Linked DNA regions of Homo sapiens: regions 2, 3 and 4 are each linked to region 1. Evidence: promoter capture Hi-C in human tissues and cell types (Jung and others, 2019). All regions are on one chromosome and are shown on one strand. Each heading gives the region's core, a stretch centred on a gene start or on the middle of the fragment in contact. The rest is flanking DNA. Distances are from core to core; before and after follow the strand shown.

What was found. Contacts are between HindIII fragments. The study calls those that stand out against the background at their distance.
Region 2: a fragment that was not itself captured here is called in contact with the fragment with the promoter of PDXK in region 1 in 1 of the 25 tissues and cell types used here (spleen).
Region 3: a contact is called between a fragment that was not itself captured here and the fragment with the promoter of PDXK in region 1, in 1 of the 25 tissues and cell types used here (dorsolateral prefrontal cortex).
Region 4: a fragment that was not itself captured here is called in contact with the fragment with the promoter of PDXK in region 1 in 3 of the 25 tissues and cell types used here (dorsolateral prefrontal cortex, liver and lymphoblastoid cells).

The regions. Positions count from the first base shown.
Region 1 is chr21:43,717,492-43,720,690 of GRCh38, forward strand. PDXK (pyridoxal kinase) reads left to right here and starts at 1,638. Exons shown (of 11, transcript NM_003681.5): 1 at 1,638-1,890. The coding sequence starts at 1,804. It overlaps LOC124905032 (a long non-coding RNA gene), which reads right to left and starts at 1,057. Exons shown (of 2, transcript XR_007067896.1): 1 at 724-1,057; 2 at 1-201. RefSeq lists enhancers at 940-989, 2,331-3,199 and silencers at 1,140-1,929, 1,970-2,279, 2,437-2,626. The HindIII fragment of the contact is 22,908 bases long and covers 1-3,199 here.
Region 2 is chr21:42,993,878-42,997,076 of GRCh38, forward strand. All of the region lies in intron 1 of PKNOX1 (PBX/knotted 1 homeobox 1), which reads left to right. Among named protein-coding and RNA genes, the nearest start is that of PKNOX1, 21 kb to the left of the region's middle. The HindIII fragment of the contact is 8,048 bases long and covers 1-3,199 here.
Region 3 is chr21:44,331,203-44,334,401 of GRCh38, forward strand. It overlaps CFAP410 (cilia and flagella associated protein 410), which reads right to left. Exons shown (of 7, transcript NM_004928.3): 4 at 1,831-2,060; 5 at 641-812. Among named protein-coding and RNA genes, the nearest start is that of CFAP410, 6.6 kb to the right of the region's middle. RefSeq lists enhancers at 166-667, 668-1,167. The HindIII fragment of the contact is 7,900 bases long and covers 1-3,199 here.
Region 4 is chr21:43,197,557-43,200,755 of GRCh38, forward strand. No RefSeq gene overlaps it. Among named protein-coding and RNA genes, the nearest start is that of CRYAA, 30 kb to the left of the region's middle. The HindIII fragment of the contact is 5,641 bases long and covers 1-3,199 here.

The DNA of each region.
Region 1 (3,199 bases), core at 388-2,887:
GAATTTATTTCTTACAAAGGGTTACAGCCTTTAAGGTGATGAGACGGGAGAGTTCCCTGGAGCCTTTTGCTGGACTTGTGATAGGGGTGTGGCTTGCTTACCTGGCACCACGCTCTAACTCCTTGTGGGAGGGGAAGCACGCAGGCGAGTGGGTGCGAGGGCCAGGACAAGCGCTTTTGGACTCCAGCCTCGTGGTACCATCTAGGGGTGTGTTACAATTAATTCTCTTTATTTTATTTTATTATTTTTTTGAGACAGAGTCTCTCACTGTCACCCGGGCTGGAGGGCAATGGCGCGATCTTGGCTCACTGCAACCTCCACCTCCTGGGTTCATGCAATTCTCCTGCCTCAGCCTCCCAAGTAGCTGGGATTACAGGTGCACACCACCACACCCAGCTAAATTTTTGTATTTTTAGTAGAGATGGGGTTTCATTATGTTGGCCAGACTGGTCTTGAACTCCTGACCTCTTGATCCGCTCAACTCAGCCTCCCAAAGTGCTGGGATTATAGGCGTGAGCCACCGCGCCCGGCCAATGTTAGCTATTATTAATGGACAATTATGACTAATTATGAAGTACTTTCTTTTAAAAGCCTAGATCTCTAAGTAATGTCTTCCTCCCTCAGTCCTCAGCACCCGCCTGGTCGGGCATTGGGTCTCACCAAGCTACAGAGCCCTAGGTGCGCTGTGTTAGGTCACCAAGACTTTAGTCTGGTGATACTGACCCCAGGGCCCCAAATCACCATGTCTGCAAGTCTGGAACCCAAAGGCCTCCGTTCCCCGGGGTGGTGCAGGGAAGCCGCAGGGAGTGCGTCAGCTGTGGAGAGCGTAGGGGTGGGAAGTGAAGGCTGTGGGGTCCCCCAGGGGGTCAGGTTCGTCCTCGAAGGCAGGCCCTCCACAGGAAGACCTGGTTGGGGTGGGATCGGACACGCGGCCCAGACCCAGGCACCTGTGGATGGACGGCCGGGCATGTGGCCATCGGCTGGGGGCCTCTGCAGGCCGCGCCACCAGAGTGGGCACTCAGGGTCCGCAAGGGTCTGGGGCGCCCCCAGAGAAGCCCGCCGCCCCAGGCCGGTGCGGAGTTGACTGGGTCCCCCCGGCCCCGTGTCTGTCAGCTCCCGCGCGGCCCCTGGGAAGGGACGCGGATCGGATGCGGGCTCCGGGCCCTGCAGGCAGTTGAGAGCGCGGTTCCCTTGGGTATCCGGGGTCCGGGGTCACTTTCGCGCCTCCGCACTATTCCCACGCCCGCGCGCACTCTCGTGGCCATCCGCGTTGCGAGAGTGTCGCGCCCGGAGGTCAGGGGCGTGGAGCCCGGGCCCCCGAGTCTCCCCTGCGTGCGGCGGGGCGCGGGGCGCGGGGCGCGGGGCGCAGGGCTGAGGCGGAGCACAATGGTTGAATGAATGAATGAACGAACGAATGAACGGCGCTGCAGAGCCCTCTCCAGGCGGAATGAAAGTGCAAACCCAGCGTTTCGGGCGGCAGAGTGGCGGGGGCCACCTGGCGCGGCCGCGCGGCCAGGGTCCGGTTTCGCTTCCTCCCAGCCCGGGGGCGGGGCCTGCGTGGCTGTCCCCGCCCCGGTCCGCCCCCGGCCAGCCCCCGGCGCCGCGCGGAACTCGCGGGTTCGGAGCCGCCCGCTGAGGTCAGAAGGAGGCGTCTGCGCTGATCGGGTCCGCCGCGCGCCAGAGCCAGAGTCGCAGCCGAGGGGAGCCGGGGCCGGAGCCCGAGCCCGAGCCGAGCCGGAGCCCGAGCGAGCGGCGGAGACCGTGCCCCCGCCTCGGCCCCGCGCCGCCGCGGCCAGGCCCGGCATGGAGGAGGAGTGCCGGGTGCTCTCCATACAGAGCCACGTCATCCGCGGCTACGTGGGCAACCGGGCGGCCACGTTCCCGCTGCAGGTACGCATCCGCCCGCAGCCCGGGCTTACGTAACCCGAGCCCGTGACCTTGGCGGGGCTGCCCGAGACGAGCCTCAGTTCCCCGAGGGAGGCTCGGGAGCTGCGGGCAGAGCCTGGCGCGGGCGCCCTGGAGGCAGGCGCGGGATGAGCCTCCCGCTCTGCTTGGCTTGCGGGGGCGGAAGCGGAGGGCTGAGCGCTCTGCGGGCCCCTGCGGGTGGGACGGGTCCGGCGTCGGGGTACGCGGGTAGGAGGGAGCCCTGTGCACCAGCTATGGCGCAGCCGCTCGTCCTCGCCCCTTCCCGCCGACCGGGCCAACTGCCGCGGGGGCGGGCGGGCGGTGCGGCTCCCGGAGGCGAGGAAATGTCGCAGAGCCCCGAGGAGTCCCGGAGCAGTCACGCGAGCCGGGACCTTGCCCCGCTGGAACGCAGAAGCGGCCGTGGAGCTCGAGACGCTCGCGCGCTCACCTCCTGGGCCCCTGTGCGTGGGGAAGTCAGGAAGAAGACGCCGAGTGAGGTCACGGTGCCCACGAGGGTGGATTCCCCTCGGCCTGACCACGCCAGGAGGTGGCCGAAGGGAAGAGGGTGGGGCAGGGGCTGCTCTGCACCCTCTAGCAGAGCGGCATCCCTGCAGGTGTTTGCTCTGACGAGGAGAAGCCCCAGAGAGCAGTTCGGGACTGTGCGGATTGGCTTTAGGGAGCCAGCTTTTAAAACGCGTTGGCCCACGGCCTCCTGGTTGCAGCTAAGTGGCCCGTGGAGGGGTAGGAGAGGCCTGGGTGCAGTGGCGTGGGTGTCACGCAGGGCCGAGGCAGAACCAGGACGACGGGCACTTCCTGGCCTTGTCGAGTCAGCAGGAGGGCTGGGGGTGCCCTGCCGGGTCGTGCTCTCCTGTGCTGCCCACCTGCGGCCTGGTCACTGGGGACGGGAGCAGGTATGCCTGGTCCCTGTGCTGGGCCCCACGGGATGTAAAGAAGGGCCACCTGGGCACGGCGGGGCCTGCGGTGCGGGCTGGCCTGGGAGGAGGACAGGAAGAGGGGAGCAGAGCTTCAGTGGAATTTGAGGGCTGACCTAGGCGTGCCCCCAGGAGGACCAAGCTGAGCAGAGTTGAGCGTGGAAAGGCAGGGGGTTCGAGTCCGAAGTAAGTGGAGGTCCTGTTGGGAAGGATGCGGTGCTTCACAGGTGGTCTTACTTGAGACCCTGTTCCATCCAGCTGCAGGCAGACCCTGCCTGGGACAGTCAGGGTGCACCGGTTCTGTGGCTCCGGCTCTTAAGCACTGCTCTGGACCACTCCTAGCTTGAGGGGGTTGGGGGAGG
Region 2 (3,199 bases), core at 303-2,802, 720 kb before region 1:
ACACGCCACCATGCCCGGCTAATTTTTGTATTTTTAGTAGACACGGGGTTTCACCATGTTGGCCAGGCTGGTCTCAGACTCCTGACCTCAGGTGATCCACTGGCTCAGCCTCTCAAAGTGTTGGGATTACAGGTGTGAGCCGCCGCGCCCAGCCTTTTTTTTTTTTTTTTTTTTTTAAGGCAAGGCGGGGTCTCCCTTTGTCGCCCAGGCTGGAGTACAGTGGTATGATCACGGCTCACTGCAGCCTCGACCTCCCGGACTCAAGTGATCCCCCTGCCTCAGCCTCTCAAGCAGCTGGGACTACAGACATGTGCCATCATGCCCAGCTAAATTTTTGGATTTTTAGTAGAGATAAGGTCTCACTTTGTTGCCCAGGCTGGTCTTGAACTCCTGAGCTCAAACGATCCTTCCACCTCAGCCTCCCAAAGTGCTGGGATTACAGGCGTGAGCCACTGCACCCAGCCAATTTTTGTATTTTTAGTAGAGGCGGGGTTTCACCATGTTGGCCAGACTGGTCTTGAACTCCTGGCCTCAAGTGATCCACCCACATTGGCTTCCCAAAATGCTAGTATTACAGGCACGTGCCACTGTACCTGACTGTTTTAACCAGTTTTGTTAGAGAGAAGGACTACCAATCTATACATTTTGAAATTCTGACTTTTCCCTCATATTATGAACATTTTGAAAGACAATCTGAGAGTAGAATCTTGATTATCTGCTACCTAGATTCAACAGTTATTGTTATCTGGACCCAATTTATTTATGTTTATATTTTTATTGATCCATTTGAAAGTAAGTTTTGGATATCATGGTCATACAACTAAACATTGAGCACGTACTTCTCAAAATGGTGATATTTATGCTGTGAGCTTATAGCTTTATCACACCATCAAAATAACACTCAATCTCTAATAGTATATAATACTATATATTCACATCTCCTCAAATTTCCTTAAGTTGTCTTTTACAGTGTTTGTTTTTGAAACCAAGATCACATACCACATTTGGTTGTTGTTTCTTTTCTTTTCTTTTTCTTTCTTCTTTTTTTTTTTTTTTTTTTTTAAGACAGAGTCTTGCTCTGTCGCCCAGGCTGGAGTGCAGTGGCGCAATCTTGACTTACTGCAGCCTCCGCCTCCTGGGTTCAAGCGATTTTTCTGCTTCAGCCTCCCCAGTAGCTGGGATTACAGGTGCCTGCCACCATATCCAGCTGATTTTTGTATTTTTAGTAGAGACGGGGTTTTACCATCTTGGCCAGGCTGGTCTCGAACTCCTGACCTCAGGTAGTCCACCTGCCTAAGCCTCCCAAAGTGCTGGGATTACAGGTGTGAACCACCACACCTGGCCGTTTACTTTTATTTTTGCCAGTTTCTTTATAGAGTGCCTCTCAGTTTGGGTTCCTGGGTGTGTCCTGAGGATTGGACTCACAGCTTGCATTTTAGGAAGGACTGCACAGAAGCCAGTAGAGTGTATCCTTTTCATTGCATCATTGTTTTCCCTTTGTAATTAATAAGTGTCTTGAGCCTGGTGCTGTGGCACATGCCTGTAATCCCAGCGCTTTGGGAGGCGGAGGTAGGAGGACGGCTTGAGCCCAAGAGTTCAAGACCAGCCTGGGCAACAGAGTGAGACCCCTGTCTACAAAAAAATGCAAAAATTAGCCAGGTATGGTGGCATGTGCCTATAGTTCTAGCTACTCAAGAGACTGAAGTGTGAGGATTGCTTTAACCTGGGAGGTTGAGGCTGCAGTGAGCCAGAGTCTTGCCACTGCATTCCAGCCTGGGAATAGAGCAAGAACCCATCTCAAAAAAATAAAAAATGAAATGTATCTTGTGGCAGGTACTTTGAGATTATGTACATTTCCTGTTTCTCATACTTTCACAAACTAGTGTTAGCATCCATCGATGATTCCTGTCTGAAACGGCTTACTGTGGTGGTTGCCGAATGGTGATGTTTGAAAGCTGTCGTCATCCTCTACACGTTAGAGAACTCTTGTATTTTAGAGCTTTTTCTGCTCCCCATCTATTCATTTATGTATTTATATTTTTAAAGAAAAACTTATTCTGACCCTTATTAAAGTTAGCAAGGCACTTAGTGCTTTGGGAGGCAAGGCAGGACGATAGCTTGAGGCCAGGAGCTTGAGACCAGCCTGGGCAACAAAGTGAAACCTCATGTCTACAGAAATTTTTAAAAATTAGCCAAGTGTGGTGGTGTGAGCCTGTAGTCCTAGCTCCGTGGGAGGCTGAGGCAGGAGGATCACTTGAGTCCAGGGGTTCGAGGCTGCATGATTGCACCACTGTACTCCAGCCTAGGTGACAGAGCAAGACCTTGTCTCAGAAAAGCAAGACAAAGGGCAGGCTGTTCAGGATGATCATGATAGGTATAGGGACTGCTGCAATGGGATTGTGTAGTGGGGGAGACCTAGGAGCAGGAGTGGGGGCCATGGACGGAAAATTTAACTAAGAGGAAACATCAGGGTGCAGGGGGTTCTGGCTGAACTGACCTAACAGGATTCTTGTGGAAGGCCGCTAGCATCACTCCTCTGGACCATAAACACTCGGGGAGTCCCAATCTCTCCTGAGCAGTGCATTGGCGCCAGCTTTCCAGATGTGTGTGTAAGTCCATCATCCTTTAAGAAGTTTGCTTAGAAAGCCTAGATGCTGAGACTTAAAAATGGAGTCTCACCATGGACAGTTCTCATAAAGAATTGTCTCCCAACAAAGTGGCTGACTGTGTTGTGGCTGTATTGTTACAGACCTTCTCAGATGTGTTTGCTGCAAGTTTTGTTTATTTGGAACTCTTTGGAAGCTAGCACAACTACATAGAAACCCATATAAGTTAGCCACCATGCTCAGCTAATTTTTAAAAAAATTTGTTGTAGAGATGGGGTCTCGTTCTGTTGCCCAGGCTGGTCTTGAACTCCTGGGCTCAAGTGATCCTTCCACCTTGGCCTCCCAAAGTGCTGGGATTACAGGTGTGAGCCTCTGTACTCAGCTAATTTAGCTAGTTTTTGTATTTGATTTTTTTTTTTTTAATAGAGTCTCTGTCATCCCGGCTGGAGTGCAGTGGCACGATCTCGGCTCACTGCAACCTTTGCCTCCCAGGTTCAAGTGATTTTCTTGCCTCAGCCTCCCAAGTAGCTGGGACTATAGGCATGTGCCACCATGCCCAGCTCATTTTTGTATTTTTAGTAGAGATGGGGTTT
Region 3 (3,199 bases), core at 328-2,827, 610 kb after region 1:
GGCACCCGAACACACAAATGCCGGGGGAGAGCTCCTGACCATGGGGTCAGGCCCTGTGCCGGATGGCAGATGCCTAACAGAGATCACATCCCGATGCCCCCACCACAGGCACCAGCAGCGGGTGTGATCTGCCAAGCAGGAGAGAAGTGCCCAGCTTCTGTCAAATGCGTTCGTGACCCGCTGCCAACTGCCCTGGGAGGCGCCGGCGTCTCACTGCAGAGTCAGCCCTGTGGCCCCTCCACGGCCCCCAGGCCCAAGGCCATACGGGCACTGATGGCCGTGCCCACAAACCATTCCAGTCACTGTGGCCCTAGGCCACCCCCCCCACCAGGGGCTCCCTGCACCTCACGAGCTCTGGTGCTGTGAGCCTTCTCTGTGCCAGGGCACGGGGCCTGGCTCACCCCCTCTCCTGCTCCCTGGCACATCCGCTGTTGGGCAAAACATGGACCTGCCACTGAAATCACTACCTGGGCACTGAGTCACTCCCAGAGAATATGGATGAGAACAGACACTCCCCCCGGATAATCCCTGTCCCTCACTTCCCAGAGACGCAGCTCACGGGAAGCCCCATTCACTCCCCGTGGGAGGACCCTGGGGGACAGGGATGGGCTGCGGAGTCCCCGCTGCCCTCCAGCCTCACGTTGCCTCCTCCTCGCTGTCCAGCGGGTCCCGGCCAGTCTCAGCAGCGGAGCTGAGGGAGCTCAGTGTGCAGCATAGCTTGGGGCCGCCGTGGCCTGTGCCCTCTCTCTCTGGGGCCGCAGTGATCTCCTCTCCCTCACTCAGTGCACGGGACAGCTCCTCCTCCGTCACAGCTTTGGGATGAAAGACAGAAGACAGCATGAGTGGCCTCACCCACGTGCAGGCCACATGCACTGCAGCTCCCGTCCTCACTGTGGCTTCAGGCACAGTCTGCTTGTGAAATGCATGCACGTGTATCCACCTCCAGGGACAACTCCCAGAGTAGCAGCCGGTTCCTCACTGTCCCATCCCCAGCCTGGCACAGGCTGACACACAACAGATGGTGGAGGGCTGCTCAGGAATCTCAACACCAGCCTTGGCCAGAAGCAAATACTCCTCAAAACCTCAACTAAGACACAATAGAAAAAGGAACAGACCATATTGAATTTATTCCATTTCTCTCATATATCAATTTCCCTGAAGTTTATATTATTAATATCAATAAAATTGTCTGGGAGAAAATAGTGGTGTCTGTATACCTGACAAGGATGAGACACTAGTGTGCTGAGAATGCCAAGGATGAACAAACAGCATGAAACCACAGCCTGGAAAACTGTGTCGGTGCTGGCGCTGGCTAGAGGAGGCACGAGTGCCTCCAATAGGTGGAGCGCAGCAGCAGGCACTGCGGTGCTGGGACGGCCCCTCCCCACGGCAGGGGCGCGATGGCACCGCCACCCTAGGTTCACAGTGGCCCGTGGAGCCTGCCCAGTCCCTGTGGACCAGTGCGATGCTGCTTGCCAGATACTGACGCCCCCGCTCGCCATGGCGCATGGCGATGGTCAGAGCAGGGCTGCTACTCACAGAAGCAAAAGAAGGAACCCTTTTGCTTTGCTACCAGGTCCTGCGGTCGTTGGGGGATACCCAAACTGTCAGTCCCAGGAGGGACCCTACGCTGCGCTGCTGCATTCGGGTGGCGGGATCAAGAGGAGACACAGAAGCCAGGGGAACAGCCTCTGGAGGAGACTTCACAGGACACATCTATGTCCCGCCAGACCAGGTATTTGCAGAAAAGGAGAAGAGAAAAGAGGGCTGGGGACATCCCCTTCCAGGGATTGTTTTGGGAGGGCCGGTGACTCCGCTGCGGCCACCTACCCTGGTTGTCCAGCTTCTGTAGGCGCGGCAGGGTGCGCAGCACGGTCATGCGGTAGCGGTGGGGGCTGGTGCCGCAGCACGGGTTCTCGGCCAGCCACAGCACCCGCAGACGCGGCAGCCCCTTCAGGTAGAAGAGCTCAGCCAGGCTGGGGATGCGGTTCCTCCGCAGGTACAGCTCACTCAGGCGCTGGCACCGGCTCACAGGCTCCAGGGTGGAGATGCTGTTGACACTGCACGGAGACCAGCACAGTCAGCGAGGGACGTGGCCAGGGCCCCCAGGGCCACCTCTCAATCCCCACCCCCAGTAAAAGGCACTCATGGGACCTGTGTCCCTGCCCTCTCCTGAGAAGCCTAAATCGGATGTCACAAGTCACGTGCAGCAGGACCTGGGCCGAGGAGAGAGCTGTAGGAAGGCCAGGCCCTGAACTCAAAGGCGGACTGGGGTGGACCCCACCAGCAACAGCCCCTTGGCCCGACGCTCCACATCAGCTCCTCAGGGCGCTAGAGTGCGGGAGGTGGGGGATGTGGCCCTCCTTCACAGGTGAGGAAAATTAAGGCCTCTCAGGGGACATATCATGTTGCCCCAAAGCAGGGAGCGGCCAGAAAAACTCATGGCAAAAACTAGGAGCCAGCTCCACGTGACATGGGAGTGAGCACGGACCTTCCAAACCCCCACTTGAGGGCGGCAACACTGGGGATGGGCCTCATTTCCATTCTACAGAACGTGGACGCGTCAGAGAAGAGAAACAGCAGGCCTGGAGCGGGGACCTGCAGGCTTTACCCTGCAGCGTGGGGTCCGTCCCCTCCACAAGCGAACACGCGGAGCCGCTCCCGCAGGCCCTCAAAGGCGCGGAGCCAGGGCCCCCTGCCTGGAGGGCTGCACTCGCGTCCGGCAGGCGCCTCAGAAGGGCGGTCACCAGGCCCCCATGGGCAGCCTGCCGTCCTGAGCCCCCCTCCCCATGCCATCCCTTCACTCGGGGTTTCCCAGGTCTCATGCAGCTCCTAGCTATGAGGCCGCCCCATTTTACCAAGAGCAAAACTCCGGCTGTGGGACTCTTTCCAGGATGGGGTCTGCCTCAGGCACAGGCAGCAGCGTGATGTACCGACCGCGTCCGCGGCCTCGAGGCTTCCTGCTCCGCTCCAGTGCAGTCAGGCGTGCAGGCACCACGCACCTGAGCTCGGTCAACACCCCTGGGGTCCTGTCCCTCCCGAGATGTGACAGAAATGGCCCCACACACGAGCGGCCTGATGCTCGGAGGCCCTGTGGCCCCTGGGTGACTCAGTGAGCGGCAGGGATAGGGCTGGATCCACAGCCCCGCCCCAAGCTTCCTGCCACCGTGGGAACCACAAGCTCCACGTTTCCCTGTCA
Region 4 (3,199 bases), core at 186-2,685, 520 kb before region 1:
CTTTGAGCATTCACTTAATACCAATCTGTACATGCGTAGGTGGAATTCCAGGAAGTGAATAAAGAACAGTGAGGTGTTAAGCTGAACAATTCCTAGAACTCACACCAGGCTGCAAGAAATTTGAACTCCTTCTATTCAGTTGGAGACCTCATAGAGCACTTGGGGCAATCAATAGACAATACACGGCTCACGCCTGTAATCCCAGCACTTTGGGAGGCTGAGATGGGCGGATCACCCGATGTCAGGAGTTCGAGACCAGCGTGACCAACATGGAGAAACACCGTCTCTACTAAAGATACAAAAAATTAGCTGGGCGTAGTGGCGCATGCCTGTAATCCCAGCTCCTCGGGAGACTGAGGCAGCAGAATCACTTGAACCTGGGAAGCGGAGGTTGCAGTGAGGTGAGATCGCGCCACTGCACTCCAGCCTGGGCAACAAGAGTGAAACTCCGTCTCAAAAAAAAAAAGAAAAAAAAATAGAGAATACAAAGGATCAAGCTTTAGTAGTAGGAATAAATTAACTCTAGAGTATAGGCAACTCTAGATAACCCCAAAAAAATGTAAAAGCAAGCCTCAAAAAGATCAACCTCATCTGCAAGTAACTTTATTACTTGCCAGAACAAATGTCAACACTATTTATAAAGGAAAAAAAAATCTATACGTTTATCAATGTTATATTCAAAATGCCTGTCACCCAATAAAATATGGTGAGATATGTGAAGCAAAGATTGTGATCCATAACTAGGAGAAAATATCAGTCCATCAAATCAGGCCCAGGAATGATGGGAATGATAGAATTAGTAGATAAAAGAATTTTAAATGGCTATTATAAATATGCTCAAGCATGTAACAGAAAACATGAATGCAAACGGAAGAGAAAAGGAAGGTATTGAAAAAAAAATGGGATGTCTAGAAATGAAAAATAATTTTTCAACTGAAAAGTTCACTAGAGGGGATCAACAGCAGATTAAAAACTGCAGAAAAAAAGATCAGTAAGCTTGAAGACAGGGCAATAAAACCTGTCAAAACAGAAGTATATAGAGGAAAAAGACTGGAAAAAATGAACAGAGCCTCAGGAATGTTGTCTAACATGCTTGTAATTGGAATTCAAGAACAAAAGAAGGGTGAGAGAGAGTAGCGAGAAAATGCATTAGGAAAAATAATGGCCCCCAAAGTTGTCAAATTTGATAAAAAGTGTAAACCCACAGGTCCAAAAAGTAAAACAAATCTCAAACAGCGTAAACACTAATAAAAGTATATCAAGGTATATCATAATCAAGTTGCTGAAAACCTATGATAAAAAGAAAATTTTAAGAGTGTCTAGAGGAGGAGAATCCTTACATTTTAGGGGAACAACAATAAGGTGACTGCAAACTTCTCTTTAGAAAAACGCAAGCTGGAAGGCAGTGGAATGACATCTTTAAAATACTCAGAGAAAAAGAATCTATTAACCAAAAATTTTATATTTAGCAAACATATCTTTCCAAAATGAAGGTGAAATACTTTTTCAGATACACACAAAAAATTAATATTTTTACTAGTGTGCCTATTCATCAATAAATATAAAAAGAACTTCTTTTAAGGTAAAAACGGAATCCTGGAAAACCCAATCTGAAATAAGCCAGGAAAGGAAAAATAAAAGAACAAAGAAGATGAATCAAATAGAAAACAAATATCAAGTTGGTAGACTTGAACCCAACTATGTTAATAATTATATCAAATGTAAATGGTTTAAACATTCTAATTAAAATGCAGAAACTGTCAGGCTAGATTAAAAAAGCAAGACCCAATTATATGCTAACTACAGGAAATTAGCTTTAAATACAAAGACAGAGAAATAAAAGTGGAAGGAGGAAAATGATACACCATGCAAACAGTAATCACAAGAGAGCTGGAGTGGCTAACACAGTAGACTGTAGGAAAGGAATAATATTACCAGAGATAAAGAGGGACATTTCATGATGATGAAAAAGCAAATTAATTCACCAAGAAGAAATAACAACCCTCAATTTGTATATTCCCAATAATAAACCTTCAAAATACACAAAGAAAATAATAATAGAACTGAAAAGAGAAATAGAAATCTATACTTAGAGATTTCAAAACTTCTCTCTCAATTATTAATAGTGGACAGAAAATTCATAAGAATATGGAAGACTTGAACATGCTATCAACCAACTTGATCTAATTGACATTTGTGTAGAATTCCAACTAACAAAAGCAAAATACGTATTGTTTGCAGGTGCGTATAGAATTTACCAAAGTAGATAATATTTTGACTATCAAACAATTCTCAAAGTTAAAAAGATTTAAATCAGGCAGAATATATTCTCTGACCACAGGGAATTAAACTTCCACAGTATTTCAGAAGCTAAGAGCTATACCATTTACCTGTCTATCTACTTTAAGGAACAGTGATAATTAATGTTCATAAAAATGAATTGAGGTGCTGAAAAAATCCTTATAAGGCATAAGACATGCCTTATATGTATGTCTTCAGAAAATTAAATGTAAAATAGGTATAATGTTAATATTTTATGAAATGTGCAAATGTACTCAAAATTGAGAGAGTAGTTCAAAGAAACCCATCCATATACCCGCCACTCAAATTTCACAATTATCAAGAATATAGGATATTTGCTTCACCAATTCAGTTGTTTATTTTCTCTATGCGGAAAAATTTTGAAGCAGACCTCCAATACTATACGATTTTACTGCTGCATATTATAGTTTGCCTCTGTAAAAACTGGATATTTTCTCGAGTGATCCCAATTCCATGGTCACACTTACTGTAAGTCATAGTAATTTTTTGTGATCATAAGATCTTGGAGCTGTTGCAGTAGGGGGGAAACCTCAGTGCAGAACTAAGCTCAGCTCTAAATACAGCAAAGACAGCTGGGAATTCATAGCCAAAGAGCAAAGCAAAGGGGTCAGTGGATGGAAAAGTACTAACAGGAACTTAATTCCATGTTTTATTAGTTTGCTAGCGCCACCAAAATAAAATCCACAGGCTGGATGGACATTAAATAACAGAAATTTATTCTCTCACAGTTTTGGAGGCTGGAAGTCCAAGATCAAGGTGTCATCAGGTTTGGTTTCTTCTGAGCCCTCTCTCCTTAACTGTCTTCTCCCTATGTCCTCACATGATCTTCCCTTTGTGTGTGCACATGTCTGTGTCTCCTAATTTCCTCTTCTTATAA